2 separate regions of the Homo sapiens genome follow, and region 1 is linked to region 2. The links are contacts of gene promoters, found by promoter capture Hi-C in human tissues and cell types (Jung and others, 2019). All regions are on one chromosome and are shown on one strand. Each heading gives the region's core, a stretch centred on a gene start or on the middle of the fragment in contact. The rest is flanking DNA. Distances are from core to core; before and after follow the strand shown.

Region 1 (2,771 bases), core at 250-2,749, 310 kb after region 2:
GGTCCCAGCAACTCAGGAAGCTGAGGAAGGAGGATTGGTTGAGCCAAGGAGTCCGAGGCTGCAGTGAGCTAGGATAGCATCAGTGCACTTCAGCCAGGACAACAGAGTGAGACCCTGTCTCTAAAAAAGAGAGGGGGAGAGAGGGAGGAACGAGGGAGGGAGGGAGGAATCTTCCCCACAAAATGCTAATTTGTCACAAAGGGAAAAAGAATGTCAGTTCCAGCGGAGACACAGACCCCACCTTAACCGAGCGATCGCGGTGGGCTCCATTGATACTGGATCCATCAGAGTCCTGCCCCACCTGACAGGGTGGGGTGAGCAGACCACAGTGTCACATCTGCTCCTTTCCTGCCAAAGATGCACAACCTGTGTCTCTCTGTGATGACATCTCAGACAAAGCCACACAGGGAACCGTCTCCAAAAGGCCTGGCCTGGAAGCTTCAAAGAACAGTCAGGGAAAGGCCCAGGAATGTTCCGGACCGAAGGAGACAGAAGACATGATGGCACCTCAGTGCAATGTGTGGTCCCAGGCTGATCTCTTTACTGCAAGGGATATTACTGGGACAACCAGAAAGCCCAGAGTGGGGTCTGACTCCACGTGATTTCCCGCCTTGGACAGCCGTGTTGGGGCGTGTAGGAGAATGTCCTTGTTTTGGGGTGTGGTGAGCACCATGCGGCAACAAACCCTCAAATGCTTCAGGGGAAAAAAAGTTCCTGTACTATTCTTGCAACTTTTCTATAAGCTTGAGATTGTGTCAAAATACAAATTTTATTTTTAACAATGTTAGGAGGAGGAGGTACACATTCTCCATTCGGCCCTGCTGAGCTTGAGCTGTCGGGCAGGCTGCAACCTGAGGCTTCTGACTGCAGCCCTGCAGTGGGGCGCTGTGAGGGTGGGGCGGAGGAGCCACAGGACACCAGAGCATCTGCTACAACCCCAGCCAAGATGGTGCAGGGTCCCCTTCCTAGTCCAAGCACAAACACATGCTGGGTAAAATAGATTTGCTTTTTTTTTTTTTTTTTTTGAGACCGAGTCTCGCTCTGTCACACAGGCTGGAGTGCAGTGGCGCGATCTCGGCTCACTACAACCTCCACCTCCTGGGTTCAAGCGATTCTCCTGCCTTAGCTTCCCGAGTAGCTGGGATTATAGGCGCCCGCCACCACGCCCGGCTAATTTTTTGTATTTTTAGTAGAGACAGGGTTTCACTGTGTTAGCCAGGATGGTCTTGATCTCCTGACCTTGTGATCCGCCCAGCTCGGCCTCCCAAAGCACTGGGATTAAAGGCGTGAGCCACTGTGCCCGGCCATTTTTTTTTTTTTTTTTTTTTGAGACAGAGTCTCGTTGTGTCACCCAGGCTGGAGTGCAGTGGCGCAATCTCGGCTCTGTGTAAACTCTGCCTCTCGGGTTCAAGCGATTCTCCTGCCTCAGCCTCCTGAGTAGCTGGGATTACAAGCACCCGTCATCATGCCCAGCTAATTTTTGTATTTTTTTTAGTAGAGATGGGGTTTTGACATGTTGGCCAGGTTGGTCTCAAACGCCTGACCTCAGGTGATCCACCTGCCTCGGCCTCCCAAAGTGCTGGGATTACAGGTGTGAGCCACCTCGCCTGGCCAGATTTGGTTTTTTTGTTTTGTTTTGTTTTGTTTTTGAGACAGAGTCTCACTCTCTCGCTCTGTTTCCCAGGCTGGAGTGCAGTGGCACAATCTCGGCTCACTGCAAGCTCCGCCTCCTGGGTTCACACCATTCTCCTGCCTCAGCCTCCTGAGTAGCTGGGACTACAGGCACCCGCCACCATGCCCAGCTAATTTTTTTTGTATTTTTTAGTAGAGACAGGGTTTCACCATGTTAGCCAGGATGGTCTTGATTTCCTGACCTCATGATCTGCCCGCCTCAGCCTCCCAAAGTGCTGGGATTACAGGTGTGAGCCACCTCGCCTGGCCAGATTTGTTTTTTAAATGTCCTGTAAAAAGGCACAAGGAAGGTAGCTGTGCAGAGCTAGAAATGAAGATAGCACTCAAGCCACAGTGGTAAGCAAGAGTGGAAACCAAACTGCCAATGCAAGCCTTGGGCCTGGTCTCACGTCCACTGAGGGCTGCTGGTTAAGGCCAGTGAGAGACAAGAGTCATGGCCACAGGCCCTTTCTGAATGGGATCTGGAACTGGGCTTCCATCATAACAATAAGAGCTAAGAAGGGTCTGTCCCAGTCCATGAAGGGGAAATGGAAATCTCTGCCCACCAGCCTAGACATGGAGCCCAGAGAGTAAGCAGCCCAGACTAAGCCAGAAGGACACAGGGCTCCAGGAAAACAAGGAACCAGTGGAAGGTAGGATGCAACTGACTAGATCAAACACTGTGTGGAGGGCTTGTTGGAAGAGGTAGGTGGGATGGGCCATAGGCACAGAGGAAACTCAGCAGATGACAGAAGAAAGCAAGGCCACTACTAACTCCAGGAAAAATAAAGAGAAAACCTAAGCAGAGTTCACTACTTGACTCAGCAGAGAGTTATAGTACAAATTATAATAGAGACATCAACTTAAACAAAAATGAGGAAATTGCTCATTTGGGAAGACAGAAGAAGAGATGGTAGGGTGGGGCAGGGAGCATTGGATAAGAGCAAAACCCTCATTCTCCAGTAACATCTCACCATGTATAAAGCTGCTAAACCAAGGAGGAGCAGCAAGAGCACATAATTGAGAAGTATGGAGAGAGCTAAGACAAAAAAAAATGGGTGAAAGCTTTGAAAGAAGCTGACGCTAGGGCCGTAATGGAG
Region 2 (2,845 bases), core at 42-2,541:
CAGTGGTCCCTACCGAGCCCCGGGGTATGGTGGGCAGAGGACAGGGAAGGCCCCCATTCACCTGCATGTTTCCCGCATGTTCAGTGGGCACACAGGTGGGCGCCCCTCATGGAGGGCACCTCCTGCCAGCCTGGCCCATGGCACACCATGCTGCCAGGGGTCTGAGCTGCCAGAGGTCTAAGCCGCCTGGGGTGTGCTCCACTCTTCCACCCAGGCCTCCCTGGGGCAGGCTCCCCCTCCAGAGCCACACACCCACCCCCTTGGAAGACACAGGCAAGGATGCCTCCTCCCTGAAGGCTTGCCCTGCGCACACAGATGCATTATCCCTGGAGTTTGTGCCGCCCCACAGGCCTGTGCTCCCAGGAGCCCTGCCAGGCAGCTGGTGGCATTCTCCACGTGCAGACAGAGGCTGAGGGCCAGAGACATGCAGTAATGACCCCGGGTTACCCGGGAGGGGCTGATCTGTCTGCTTCCAACACTGGGCTTTTTCCCAAGGCGCCCAGAGCCTCTGGAGAAGACGCATCTCTTCATGCCAGCAGGGCTTCCCAGCCACTCACCCTGGAACCCTGGCCTGCCCCACCTATACCCCTGTCCTGGCTCCAGCTGCTTCCAAGGCTTGTTCCTGCAGCCTCCCAGGCACCTGTCTTGCCCACAGGCAGCCTGCCTGGCTTCCCCCGACCACAGCACTTTCCACGGATCGCCATTACAGCACACATCTTCCCTACCCGCAGGTGCATGCCAGGCTGGGGCTCCTCCCAGGTGGGGCAGGGTTCCCCACTCCTCTGGTTTGCATGGGACTTTTAACATTGAAAGTCCCACGCCCCTGGGAAGCCAGGATTGAGTCACCCTAGCAAAGAGCGCATCACATTCGCCCTGGCGTGCAGGGCCAAGCTTACAGCAGGCACTCGCTGAAGGGCAGGGCTCTCTGACAGTCTGCAGACCCACGTGCCCCCTTAGAAGCAGGTGGGCGGCCTCTGCGGCCTCCCTCAGCAGGGCTCAGAGCACTTGAGTTAAGCCTGTGGACAGCGCGGTAAAAGAACATCAGTCCAGATGTTCTGTGCTGATGCGCGATCTCTGGAGGATAACCGCCCGCCCGCCCGCAGCCCCGGGCCTCTCGGACCCCTGCCCAGCACTGGCCCTAGCTCGCCCTGTAGCGGCCGAGACCTCAGAGGCCGGGGGTGGGGGAGGGAAGGGGCGGGGCCGGCGCCTCATTAACATAATCTATGCGAGGGGGCGTTTGGCAGTCAAATATATGCGCATATATCTCCATGGCTGATGAGCTGGCCGGGCACTTTCAAAATGGCGGAGTGTGGAGCGAGCGGCAGCGGGAGCAGCGGGGACAGTCTGGACAAGAGCATCACGCTGCCCCCCGACGAGATCTTCCGCAACCTGGAGAACGCCAAGCGCTTCGCCATCGACATAGGTAGCCGCAGGCCGGGCGCCGGGCGCGGGCTGCGGGGGCGGGCGGGGCGCCGGCGGTGGGCCGGCGAGCGGGGGCGGCGGGAAGGACGAAGGGCGGGGGCGCGGGCCTCGCGCACAGCCTCACGGGCCTTGTAGTCCGCGGGCCCGCGCACAGCCTCACGGGCCTTGTAGTCCGCAGGGTCGCTGATGCGCGGGCTCGGGGCGACGGCCGGACTACAGCTACCGGCAGGCGCCGCAGGGACCAGAGCGGGGCCTGCCGGGCCTGGTAGTTCGCGCGGCCGTCCTGGGTGGCTGGGGGCCGGGGTCCAGCGTTACCCGCCGCGAGGTGGGAGGGTCGGCGGAATTTTATGTCTTCGGCCACATCGGCATCTGGGCGCCCCGGCTCCGCCGCTTGGCTGGTGGCTGGCCTGAGATTTGGGGTCCTTAGTTCTGGTCGAGACGAGGACGAGCTCGGCGGGAAGCCCTTGGCAGAGTGGCCCCGAAAAGGCCGCGCGTTCCCGCGGCGTGGCCAGCTGTGGCCCGCGGGCCGGACAGTCCGTGCACAGGCCCCGCTCTCTGGAGAGTGGACGCCGGGCGTGAGTTCAGGCGGCCGTGGACGTGGGACCTGGGAACTCGTGCCTCTGGTTTAAAAGCCACCCGTGCCTTCCGTGGCCTTTAAGGCGGCCTGCACTTCTGCCCTGGCCTCTCCAGGGTCCGCTGCAGACCCTCCTGCCTGATGGCTGTGCTCTCAGTAATGACGGCGGGCCAGGCTCTGTTCTAGACCTTTTTCCCACGCTCCTGACTCCCGGACACCTCCCAGCCACCTCTAGGGGAGGAACGCGAATTACTCCCTTTTCGCAGATGAGGATACCAAGCCCCAGAAAGGTGAACTAATTTGCCCAGGGTCATCGGGCTAGAAAGTGGCAGAACCAGGATTTGAACCAGCCACTCCCTGCTCTCCTACTCTGCCCATGTTTCAGGCATGAGGGCTTCCTGGGGGCAGCTTCACCTGGAGAAACCCCCCTTGAATAGCCGCTGCGGCTTCACATACCTCTCCCTCTTAGCACTCATCTCGGTCGTAGGCTGAGTCTGCTTGTGTGTGAATCCCACAAGAGCAGCGGTGTGTCTTGTAGCCCCAGCCCCCGAAAAGGATGCCCAACCTGTCTTTGCCGCCCAGTAAATACTGGGATGAATGGGCCTGCCGCTGACTGCTTCCCACCTCCCTGGAAAAGCTGGGACTCAGAGAGACCCAGGCCATTCCCTCTGAGCTGTGTGCTCCTGGTGCATCTGACATGTTTGCTGCTGTGGTGTCCTCGGGGTTGTTGGTGTCATCATCTCTCTGAGATGTCCAGCCAGGGAAGGGTGTCCTCTAGGGAAGTGGGGGGCGATGAGAATGGAAGTAGCTATAGGTCCTGGCTCCCACCTTTCAGTGAGCTTATGGGAG

The links. Contacts are between HindIII fragments. The study calls those that stand out against the background at their distance.
Region 1: a contact is called between a fragment that was not itself captured here and the fragment with the promoter of PANK4 in region 2, in 1 of the 25 tissues and cell types used here (dorsolateral prefrontal cortex).

Annotation. Positions count from the first base shown.
Region 1 is chr1:2,218,729-2,221,499 of GRCh38, reverse strand. LOC124903823 (a long non-coding RNA gene) reads right to left here. Exons shown (of 2, transcript XR_007065358.1): 2 at 751-965. Among named protein-coding and RNA genes, the nearest start is that of SKI, 8.2 kb to the left of the region's middle. The HindIII fragment of the contact is 5,387 bases long and covers 1-2,771 here.
Region 2 is chr1:2,525,042-2,527,886 of GRCh38, reverse strand. It overlaps PANK4 (pantothenate kinase 4 (inactive)), which reads left to right and starts at 1,291. Exons shown (of 19, transcript NM_018216.4): 1 at 1,291-1,423. The coding sequence starts at 1,300. RefSeq lists an enhancer at 544-1,264. The HindIII fragment of the contact is 22,461 bases long and covers 1-2,845 here.